Linked DNA regions of Homo sapiens: all the other regions are linked to region 2. The links are contacts of gene promoters, found by promoter capture Hi-C in blood cells and fetal thymus (Javierre and others, 2016). All regions are on one chromosome and are shown on one strand. The core of a region is centred on a gene start or on the middle of the fragment in contact, and the rest is flanking DNA. Distances in the headings are between cores, read along the strand shown. Region 1 holds the start of CFAP65-AS1 (CFAP65 antisense RNA 1). Region 2 holds the start of NHEJ1 (non-homologous end joining factor 1). Region 3 holds the start of RESP18 (regulated endocrine specific protein 18).

Region 1 (3,818 bases), core at 585-3,084, 160 kb after region 2:
CTGAGTCCCAGGAGTCCATGCAATGGCAGTGGCAACAGCAGCTGAATGTCATGGTGAAGGAGGAGCAAGAACAGGACGAGAAGGAGGCCATCAGAAGGTGAGCAGCCAGGCCCCAGTGAGGACGGGAGGGAGGCGAAGTGCAGAAGGTTCCTAGGAGGCAGTGGGATGCCAAGGATGGCTGCTGCCTGTATGCACATCTCATCCTAATTCAGTGCTTAGTGAGGTCATGTTGGTAGCTTAAGGCCTCTGTGGGAGTATCCGCCCGGCACCAACACTGAACTTTATTCTTTTTTCTCTAAGAACTAGTTGTTGACATTTACCAACTTACCAGGAGAATTGTTATAGTCTGCAAAGTCTTGTAAATGGGCTTCTAGAGCCAGAAAAGGACCACCTGTCTTGCAGGTGGGACTTCCCGCCGGGGCTGCCCTACAGATGATTTATGTCATTGTAGGGATTCCCTAGGCCCCACCCAGTCCCTTCTGCGCCCTCTCATCACTTCCCTACCTTTCTCTAAACTTGGCCCTGAGATGCCTACTACATCGCCTGGGTTTGAATCCCACCCCTTAAACCAGCAGCATATTTGGCAACTTGGAATCTTTTAGCCACACTTGGAACGTCCGTAACATTGAAACAAGAATGCCCCATAGTGTAGTGGATGAGGGGAGTCGAATGGGAATCTCCGTAGAGCTCGCGGCACAATGTACCGCACGGACAGGCGAGCGAGGAGGCGCGCGGGCACTGCGGCCGCCCTCATGCTAGCCCCCGCCCCCTCGCAGGCTCCCGGCCTTCGCCAACCTGCAGGAGGCGCTGCTGGAGAACATGATCCAGAACATCCTGGTGGAGGCGAGCCGCGGGGAGGTGGTACTCACCTCGCGGCCACGCGTCATCGCCCTGCCGCCGTTCTGCGTGCCCAGGTAAGGGCGCCGGGACCAGCGGCCGCGCAGACCGCGCGAGAGGGGCCACGGGGGCAGCCAGGCTCTGCCCGAAGCCTCGCCCCCACGCCTACCTGGGACTTTTTGTCTTCCAGGAGTCTGACCCCGGACACGCTGCTGCCGACGCAGCAAGCAGAGGTACTCCACCCGGTGGTGCCACTTCCTACCGACCTTCCGTAAATGCCCGCGCCCAGCCTCTCCGACATGCCGCTAGGGGTCACGCCTGGCCCCCTCTCCACCGCCAGTAAAAGCATCTAGTCTTTTTTCTGTATCTACCTTGACTTTATTTCCCCGACGAGGGGGAACGCGCGCGCGAGCTCTGAGAGGGAAGGATGGCAGGGAGCAGCCCGGGCGGACTGCAGAGGCGCGGCGGGAACTTAGGGCCCGGGAGGATGCACCTCTCCGCCCACACTGCAGCTGGACTGAGACCTGGCCGCTAGCTGCCGGCCGCTGGACCGGGTCTGGCCAGTGGAGGGCGCTCCGGACGGGGCCTGGCTGGCCTTTGCCCCAGCGCACCTTGGTGCACAGTAACTGAGTGCCAGGCCTGGCCAGCGAAGCAGGTGTCCACTGGGCAGGGCGGCCACCCCTCACCTTTCCGCGCCGCGCCTGCTCGGAGGCTTAGCACCCCCAGGGCCAGCCCCTTAGCATTTGCCGAGCTCCGAGTGCCCAAGAGGCTGGGGAGGAAGAACTGAGGCACGCCGCGGAGGGCCAGGAACTAGGCTGGGGCGGGTCGAGGTCACCACTGGATTTCGGGCCACAGACCCTGCTAAGCGACTCCCACTGTGAATCAGTCCTCAGACGAGGATGGATACCCACCTCTCGGTTCCTCCTAACCCCCGCCCGGGAGCTTCTGTCCTCTGCTTCTCGGCTCCTCCCTCCCAGAGGCAGGTGGGTGGAAAAGTGACATCTGGTGTTGTTCCAGAGGCGCCCAGGGTCCCCAGCACCCTCCCCTCCGCCCCCGCCACCAAGGCCTCGGAGAAGCTCCGGTCTCAGAGCCCGGGCGGGGGAGGGGGGAGCGCTCCGCCTCCATGAGTCAATATTTGCCCCGAGCAAACGGGCGCCTGGACAGGTGTGAGTGTGTGTGTCTGGGGGCGGGGACTGAACAGGCAGTATAAGAGCACACGGAGCCCGGGCTCCGGGACAAGCTCCAAGGCGTGGGCTGGGGACGAAGCCAAGCTAGGCTGGGCCGGGCGGAGGGGCCAGGAAAGCCGGGCGGAGGGTGGCTGGGAAAGGAGGGGCGGGCCAGGTGCGCACCTGCGGTGGCCGCCGCGGCCGCCGACGTGTCAGCCGCAGATGCGTTCAGGTGAGGGCGGAGGCTAGCGGGGCGCTGTGCAGCACTGAGCTCGCGGAAGACCAGGACCAGGAGATCACCGAGGGCGACCGCCAGGCCCCGGGCCCTCCGCTCCCGCCCCGCGACGAGCCCCTCGCACAAACCGGACCTGAGCGTTTTGTTCGTTCGGCTCGCGTGAGGCAGGGGCGGCCTCTCAGCACCAGCCCGGGGGCCGGCCTGATCGCCACGCAGGCACCTGCCGCCGCCACCGCCACCGCCATCTCAACCGTACGGGTGGGAGAGGCTGTGCGCCGCTCCAGGGGAGATCCGGCTCCCATCCGGCCCCACCCGCCCTGCCTTGCCCTGCCCGCAGCTTCTGGGCTGCCAGGCTCCATTCTGCGTCGTAATACGGGCTGAGCCGGCTCCAGCGGGTGGCGAAGGGGGCCGTGGCCCAGAACAGAAACCCTTCTGGAGGTGGAAACCCGGATTCTAGTCCGCCTCTGTCCCCGCGACTTCTATGGCCTTGGGCAAGTCATTTCCCGGCCTCTTGGTTTTCCCATTTGCTCAGTGAACGGTTGGTCTGGCCTCCCGCAGGGGCTAGGCCCTCCCCAGCCTCCTGTCCCGGTTCCTGGGCTCCTGGTCATGCTGGGGAAGATGCAGGCCCTCACGGAGTTGGAGCCAAGGCTGAGGTGTGGAAAATCTGGGCGGGGGAAGCTGAGGGCCACCATGGAGCCTCAAATCCACTCCTCGGATCTCTGTGGTGCTGCTGACATCCTGAGATGTCACTCCCTGACACTCCCTTGGTCCCTCTTTCAGTCTAAAAACGTCTGAGACAGTCAGACTGACTGAAAAGGACAAGCCCCCAGGCACAGCGGTTCACCACCTTCCTCAAACCTCAGAATCCCACATCCTCGCTTCCATCAGCTGGGGTGGGGTAGGTAGGTGGCCCTCAGCTCAGGCAGAGGCAGCCCCGGGAGATGGGAACCAGGGTCAGAAGTCCCTCCAAACTGCATGTTCCTAGAGGTGCTGGATTGTCCCCTCCACCACCACCCGCTCTAGTGCCCCTATGTCACCCAACTACCCAGAGGCCCCAAAGGATCTGCTGAGCCCGAGTCCGTGGCACAGAGAGAGAAGGGGGAGGGGCGAGATGGCGTTGGACAGATCCCAGGCAGGTTTAGGGAGAGGGTGGACTACAGCAGGGCTCTTCGTGGAGCAGCCCCAGGGGCAGGGGAAGGTCCTTGGGTCCTGGGCTAGGGTGTGTGCAGCCCTCTCCTGGCCCCCCTGACCAGGCTCTGTCCTGGGCCAGCCCTTTACTCTGCCTGGCACTGAAAGATTTGCCTGTCAGGGGCCTGGCATGGTCCTGGTGCACCTTCCCTGTGTCTTTGAGGGCTTCCCCTTCCCTCCCCAACCATGTCAGGGGCCAGGATTCCACATCCTGGGTTTGCACAACAAAGAGATCTCTGCTTGGAATGACCCCCTCCCAAACACACACACACACACACACACACACACACACACAGCCTTGAGGGGAGGGTGGTGAGAAGGAGGCAGCCACCCAGTGGGCGGGGATCTTTCCTGGTGACTGAGAATTACTGCCCCTTCACCCCAGGGCCTAA
Region 2 (3,564 bases), core at 936-3,435:
AAGTGGGAAGTCTTAGGATATGTCCTGAGAGCAGTAAATTGCTTAATTTGTCTCACCCAGTTCTCAACTGGGTGATTTTGCCCCCATGGGGACATTTGGCAATGTCTGGAGACATTTTTGGCTGTTACAAATGGAGGAAGAGGGAGTTGTTACTAGGGTTTAGTGGATAGAAAGATGCTGCTAAACATCCTACACTGTACAGGACATCCCCCCTGCACCACCACCCCCAACAAAGAATTATCTGGTCCAAGATGTCAGTAGGACTGAGGTTGAAAAACCCAGGATAGAGCATAGAGGGTAAAAAATGGGAGATGAGGTTGGGACTTAAATATTACGCTTTCTAGAGAAAGGGAACCTGGAATAGTCAAAGCATATATGGAGGGTGTGTGGATGATCAGAACACAGGGTGTTGAGCAGGAATCCTGTGGGAAAGGCCTGGATTTGGAAAGTGGAGAGTAGAAAGACAAAGGGTGAGAGGGATGAAATGACAATTCAGAAAGATCTGTCCTTAGTCCAAGGCTTAGGTTTAGGTCTGGGAGGGTAAGACTCCTGGGCTTGGATATAGGATCAGAGTTCCCTTCCTGCCTGGCCCCAACTCTTCATAGGCTGGAGCCCCTTGGATGTATTACTGCACTCACTGCTGACACAGCCCATCTTCCTGGCTGGACTCTCAGGCTTCCTACTAGAGAACACGATTCCTGGTAAGTTGAGGCTAGGCCCTAGCAGACTGGGGAGTGGCCAGGAAGCCATCCCTCCCTGGGATGGGCAATAGCCTGACAAACCTCTCTTTTGCAGGCACACAGCTTGAGCGAGGCCTAGGTCAAGGGCTACCATCTCCTTTCACTGCCCAAGAGGCTCGAATGCCTCAGAAGCCCAGGGAGAAGGCTGCTCAAGTGTACAGACTTCCTTTCCCCATCCAAAACCTCTGTCCCTGCATCCCCCAGCCTCTCCACTGCCTCTGCCCACTGCCTGAAGACCCTGGGGATGAGGAAGGAGGCTCCTCTGAGCCAGAAGAGATGGCAGACTTGCTGCCTGGCTCAGGGGAGCCATGCCCTGAATCTAGCAGAGAAGGGTTTAGGTCCCAGAAATGACCAGAACGCCTACTTCTGCCCTGGTTAATTTAGCCCTAACTCTCATCTGCTGGAGAGTCAGCTCCCAAACTGTTCTTTCTTGTAGGCAGAGGATATGTGTGTGTGTATTACATGGGACTGTCTAGAGGTTCCATTTCCCAATAGGGTGGGTTGCCTTTCCTTGTCTTAATTAGGCCTAACTGTTCCAGAGCAGAGGCCATGATTTAGTGGACCATGAATGATTGAGATTTTGCCTGTGTACTATCAATGCCACTTGAACCCCAGCATTCACTTTAATACTTACTGAGCATCTCCCATGTGCAAGGTCCTGGAACTACAGGGATAAGACAGGGTCCATGCCGTCTCAAGGCATTTACGGTTTAAAAAGACCTTTGTAATTACTAACGAAAATGCAAAGCAGAAAGCAGTCTGTAATAAAGATTAAAATAATGCCGTGGGAGCAAAGAGGAAGGGATAATGAATTCTGATTGGGGACAGTGGGAAAGGCTTTATGCAAGAAGCAATGAGGATGGCCTTGACAAATGAGGATTTTTGGTTTTGGAAAATGGATGCAGAGAAGTTTTCAGGTTCGGGGTCCAGCTTGAGCAAAGCCATGGGTTGTACAAAGTCCAAGATAGGTGAGGGGTTTCAAATTTCTCAGTAGTGAGGGAGTATAAGTACGGGGATGATGGAGAAATGAAGCAGGAGAGGTAAAGGATGAGGTCGGACTATGGGACTTATGCCTGGGAGACTCCTTCCTTCAACAACTCTAGTGCTGGTGGAGGACCTGAGAGATCATCTACAGAAGTTCAATCCCTTATTTTGTTAAAAAGAGACCGGATAGGTAGGGGAGGGAAGAGAAGTGACTCAAGTTTGACAAATCCAAACCTGGGCTCCCCTCTCCTGCGCCTCGCCCGCTATTCTTTCCACTCGGCCAGCGTGACTCCAAGACGCGCCACTACCCTTCTACTAGCCGGCTGCCCGGCCTCTCCTCCACTTACCCTGGCCACTGGGGCGCTCCTCTCATCAGTGTCCCAGGCCCAGAAGCCCCGCCCACGCCAGGCATAGGCCCCGCCCCTGTATCCCAAGACCCTGCCTCCTCTTGCGGTGGGGGGAAAGCGGCCTCTTACTCTAGGCCTTTCGGTTTGCGCGAGCGGGCAGGAAAGCGTGCGTGCGGCTAAGAGAGTGGGCGCTCTCGCGGCCGCTGACGGTAGGTGGAATCGCGTTCGAGTCCGGGCAGGAGCAAGCCAGCGAGGGGCTGCTCAGACGCTGCGGGTTGGCCCTGGCGCTGGCCTTTTCTCCCTGGAGGGAGCGCGCGCTGCCGGGGTCCAGGGCAGGCCTCCGGGGGAGGGGTGGGCGGGGCCGCGCGTGCGCAGTCCGCTGGCTGCTGCCCGGCGTGGATGGTAGGGCTCGAGTGAAGGTACTCGTTGGTCGCCTGTTTGGTGCGACGAAGCCGCTGGTGGCCGGCTTTGTTGCCCCTTGAAGCCGCGCCCCAGTGCAGCCAGTGCTGTAGAAATGGGAAGGCGGACAGCGAAGGCTGTTATAGCTGGGGCGGGTGGAAGCGGGACGCCTGGCGGCTCCTGGGGTGGGGCTATGGTTGTGGTGGGACCTAGGGTTCGCGCTGTCCCAGGGGGACCGGGCGGGGCCCAGCCGGGATGCTCTCTGGGCCTCTACTGCCCTCTGCAGGGCGTCGGAGGAACTGCCCAGAGGGGTCACTGCTGAGGAGCGGACTCGGTGCAGATAAAGGTTCTCAAGGGACCCCTCCGCCGGGATGCCGCTCAGCGCCCCTCCACTCAAGAGAAATAAACCCGTGAATCTCGTTAATGTGAATGTTAGAGGCAGCCTTGAAGGAAAAAAGAAAAGGATGAAGTGTAGAAGCTTCGGACGCAGAACGGGACGCGTGTGGTGGGAGCAGGCAGCCGGGGTCTGGTGCCCAATGTGTCAGGCCTTTTTATAGGGCCCGTTACTCCTGGCCACATTTTAAACTCCTCCCCCTTTACCCAACAGACAAACAAAACCCATCAATTTGAGGGTTCTGAGCTTCCGGGCTTTCCGAAGGAATGGGCTAGAATAGTAAACCCAATTTTGGCAACTGTTAAGAGTACACTGGGGAGTGCCTATAAGGGAGATGAAAGTGGCGACTTTATTCGCGTTTGTGACCTTTGGCATTGTGGAGCTCTTGTCCGGCTAGGACTAGCTTAATCATCCCATGACCACTTCTGTCCCCATAAGAGCAGCATGTGGGAAATGTGACGGAAACACCATCCTCCAAACACAAGGCTTTGAGGATGCCATAAAGAAAGATCACCACGTATATGTATATATATGCATATATATATATGCATATATATATGCATATATATATGCATATATATATGCATATATATATATGCATATATATATGCATATATATATAAAGTTATGTCACAAGTCACAAGGGCACACTTCAAAAGCTAGGGGAAATGACTGTGTTAATCAGACTTAATAAGGAATT
Region 3 (3,854 bases), core at 221-2,720, 170 kb before region 2:
TGTTTCAGTGTTTAGAATTTTTGATTATAATGTGTCAAGAGTATAGACTTCTTTGAGTTTATTCTATTTGGCATTCCTTAAGCTTCTTTAATCTTTAGGCTTATGTCTTTTCACACATTTGGGAATTTTTCAGAAATTATTTCTTCAAAATTTTTGTGTGTACTGCACTTTATCCTCTTAATCTGGAATTCCAATGACATTAATTTTGGACTTTTGATATTGCCCTACAGGTCCCTGAAGTTCTGTTAACTTTTTTTTTCCCAATGTTTTTTCTCTCTCTTGTTCTGATTGGATTATTTCTGTTGACCCATCTTCAAGTTGACTGACTCTTCTGTCATTTCTATCCCGCTTGGAGCTCATCCAGTGAGTTTTTATTTTAGTTATTATATTTTTTCATTTCTCAAATGGCACTTTAGAAAAACAAACAGAACAACCAGTGATAGGAGATGGGATTGGAGAAATAAGTCCAAAATTGCCTAGACAGAGCTCTGTAGGCAACAGTAGAGCGTCCAGATCTTATGCAAAGTACAGAGGAAAAATCACTGGGGATTTTAAGGAAGGGAATAGAATTATGTGATATATAATTTTAAAAGGCTACTTGAGAATATATTGATAGGGGAAAGAGTGGAATCAATAGATCAGTTAGGAAGTGTTGTCTTGGTCCAAGAAAGACTGTGGTGGCCTGGGCGAGGCAATCACAGGAGCCTAGCACCTCTATCTGGCCCTGCACTGCCCCAACAGGCAGCCTGAACCTCAGGGGGCTCTAGATCCTTATGCTTCCAAGGAAACTGCTTCTTGATTCCTGTCACCATGGCAGCTACACTTCTCCTACCTGGATTGGTCGCTGGAGTGGCATCATCAGCACTAAATGACTGATCCTCACAATAAGAACTGGTTGTCATGGTGCTACCAATTATGCAAACAAGAATCTGCCTTTCTTCTGCAGGCTCAGCGTCCTTGACTAGCTCTGTACCTAAGGGAAAATCAGGGAGAGAGAGAAGATCATGACGTCGGAGCCAAGGGGAGGCTAGCTGTCAGGTGGTTGCTGAGTCACTATTCCTCAAGACTTGCCCAAGTCAAGACTGCAACTAGAGGCCCTTATATAGTGGGGTGAGGGGAGCTTACACTGTGGAGGGGGAGCCCCTGGCACATATACACACAAATTCCAAATCCGATTTTCCTCCCATTTTAGAGCTTCTTTGAACTGTTTCCTTCTCTGAGCAAAACTTTGTCACAGATTGAGGCCTTCCTCCTCTCCCAGCCCCATTACCCTGCAGAGAGGCAGTTTTAGGACAACTTGCTACTGGATTTTTTAAAGTGAGTTTTCATGAAAATTCTTTAAGCAGGCTTGTCTGCAAGTAAGACAGTGGGCCTCAGCCAGAGCTTCTGAATTAAAATATGTAAAGCCAGAACAGAGAGGACATTTGGGGTGGGGATTGAAATAGTAAAACTCCTTGGTACACATGGAGCCTAGGCTTCTGATCTCCTTCTCCTTCCGGACATCATTTGTAACATGAATGTAAGACAGAGTAGGACCACAGCTGAATTACAATCTTCCTTCGCCCACTCTCCCCAGCTACACTTTATGGTAGTCTTTCTTTCTTCTTGGGAAAGAAAGTTCCTTCCTACGAACCCCTGGTTCAATAGGCCTGAAAACCTGCTAAGTCTTCTGAGGGTATTACTCTTAGCATTAGAATCCCTTCCAATGAACAGTAAAAAGAAGAGCAGCATCAATGCTCCTGTACATTTATCATTTTGATAGCCATTCTCCTGGTGGTTTAAAATCTTAAAATACAGAGAGGAGCACACTCACCTTTGTTCAGCCGACCCAAAGACCAATATTTCCCTTTTTCCAGGAGCATTATACTTCACAAAGCAGGTTCACGTTCATTTGCTCTTAGGCCTCAAATTATTGCTATAAATTTATTTTAAAATAGCATGTCCAGTACATAATCAGTGACAACCAGATAAACCTCTAGTTTTTGGCGTGACAAGACAGAAACTTGTGTCGGATCCTCCTAACATTGGGTATATACTCTAGGCAAAATATAAAAATAACTGTATGAAAGCATGGAGACTGATCAAGAGTTAGAAACCTACAGGGAGTATAGTCCTCAAAAAAAGGAAGTCCACCAAGTGACTTATACATGTATAGGCTTTTCCTCTGAAGATACTTCAGAGTTCACTGCAGTACACAGGGAAACAGCTCTGTCAGCAACTGGCAGTCTTACTAAGGAAACAGCTTTTGGAGTACAGAGATGCCAGAGCATCTGGAAATTGAGGAAGAAATTTAGAAAATGAATAAATTACAGAGAGAGGAACTCAAAATCTGCATCCTAACTCCCCTCCAATTCTTAGCTATCTTCTAAATGGCACTTGCGCAGGGTGAGATTTCAAGGAACCTAGTGAAAAAGTCAAATATCTGAACAGAGATTTTGGCAGCTGTCACAGTGTTAGGGTGACTGAGTTTGGAGTTCAGGACCCGTAAAATAGAGAGTTTTGGTAAATGACTTTGGGTTATGTTGAAATCCAAAAAGGACCACACCTTAGCCATAAGCACCATATCCCAGGACTAAGAGATACAGGCTAGAATTGAGAATAGGATGAAGTACTCCTTCCCTAACCAGACTGCCACAGGATCAAGACTTTTTACCAAAAATTTAATTGCCTGCCAGAACAAACTCAAACTATTACCCTTTAAAGATAATAATATAATTCAGATCCTTTGTAATGTATCAACCCCAAATGTTCACTATACAAACCCTTAGGTTTAAGTAATCCACTATCTCGACCTCCCAAAGTGCTGAGATTACAAGCATGAGCCACCATGCCCAGTTTAATAAATGTTTTAAGCTTAATGAAAAAAAATTTAAATGCCAGTCTAAGAGTTAGAAAGCTCACAAACTAGCTTGTAAGTACACAAGAGTGAAAGCAAGAGGTCAGTTAGCTAGTTAGTTACTACAACAACTCAATTTAAAAGAGTACAGTGTCCAAGGCCTGGCATGGTGGCTCATGCCAGTAATGCCAACACTTTGGGGGGCCAAGGTGGGAGGATTGCTTGAGCCTAGGAGTTTGAGATCAGCCTGGGAAACATGGCAAAACCCTGTCTCTACAAAAATAAATAAATAAATAAATAAAATTGGCTGGGCATGGTAGTGTGCACCTGTAGTCCCAGCTACTCTGGAGCCTGAGGTTGAGTAGAGGTCGAGCGGAGGTTGTGGTGATCTGAAATTGCAAGACTGTCTCAAAAAAAAAAAAAAAAAAAAGTACAGTGTGCAGTGGTTTGGACCAAGGCGATGGCAGTGGATGTGGAGTAAAGTGGATGGATGTGCCATATATAATATATAATATATAATATTATATATATATATATAGCAGATCGAACCTATATGATTTCTAAAGGGTTTTAAGTGGGCCAGAGTAAAGAGTGTCAAGGATAATAAAATAAACTAAATTCCTTGAGTGCCTACTGTTTCATCGCTGTTCATATTTGATTCTCACAACAAACCTGAGTAGGTACAACTTGCACCCGTATCTTACGTGCCATCCGTTTCTGCAGCCTTAGGACTGGGAGTACAGGCGGTGGTTCTTGGGACCCAGCTAATGCCCGAAAGGAGCCGGGTCAGGAATTCCAAGAGATGAGGGTGGGGAGGCGGTAGGGGAAGGAGCTGGGGAGGCGACCGCAGGGGCAGGGCCCGCTCACGATTGGCTGAACTGCCGAGGAGGGTTAAACAGATTCGGAGTCGCGGGCTGGTGGGAAGCTGCAGCCCCGCTCAGCCCCTCGGCCGTGGCCGCTACCTTCACTGAGACTTGGCCGGGGAGTGAGCGCGCCGAGCCTGGGAGGATACAGCACC

The links. The method cuts DNA at HindIII sites, captures the fragments that hold promoters and counts their contacts. A CHiCAGO score of 5 or more calls a contact.
Region 1: a contact is called between the fragment with the promoter of CFAP65-AS1 here and the fragment with the promoter of NHEJ1 in region 2, in 1 of 17 cell types (M2 macrophages). The highest score is 7.1, in M2 macrophages.
Region 3: a fragment that was not itself captured here is called in contact with the fragment with the promoter of NHEJ1 in region 2 in 12 of 17 cell types (M1 macrophages, erythroblasts, total CD8 T cells and 9 more); the score reaches 7.5 in M1 macrophages.

Annotation. Positions count from the first base shown.
Region 1 is chr2:219,000,231-219,004,048 of GRCh38, reverse strand. CFAP65-AS1 (CFAP65 antisense RNA 1) reads right to left here and starts at 1,834. Exons shown (of 3, transcript NR_046086.1): 1 at 1,749-1,834. CFAP65 (cilia and flagella associated protein 65) reads left to right here. Exons shown (of 35, transcript NM_194302.4): 33 at 1-97; 34 at 777-914; 35 at 1,028-1,203. The coding sequence ends at 1,112. MIR375 (microRNA 375) reads left to right here and starts at 2,341; the gene lies at 2,341-2,404. RefSeq lists enhancers at 1,768-2,062, 3,505-3,818. The HindIII fragment of the contact is 13,795 bases long and covers 1-3,818 here.
Region 2 is chr2:219,159,436-219,162,999 of GRCh38, reverse strand. It overlaps NHEJ1 (non-homologous end joining factor 1), which reads left to right and starts at 2,185. Exons shown (of 8, transcript NM_024782.3): 1 at 2,185-2,280. SLC23A3 (solute carrier family 23 member 3) reads left to right here. Exons shown (of 12, transcript NM_001144889.2): 11 at 606-701; 12 at 796-1,535. The coding sequence ends at 1,091. RefSeq lists a silencer at 2,401-2,520. The HindIII fragment of the contact is 12,472 bases long and covers 1-2,950 here.
Region 3 is chr2:219,332,620-219,336,473 of GRCh38, reverse strand. It overlaps RESP18 (regulated endocrine specific protein 18), which reads left to right and starts at 3,730. Exons shown (of 6, transcript NM_001441699.1): 1 at 3,730-3,854. The coding sequence starts at 3,845. RefSeq lists an enhancer at 552-1,751. The HindIII fragment of the contact is 2,771 bases long and covers 85-2,855 here.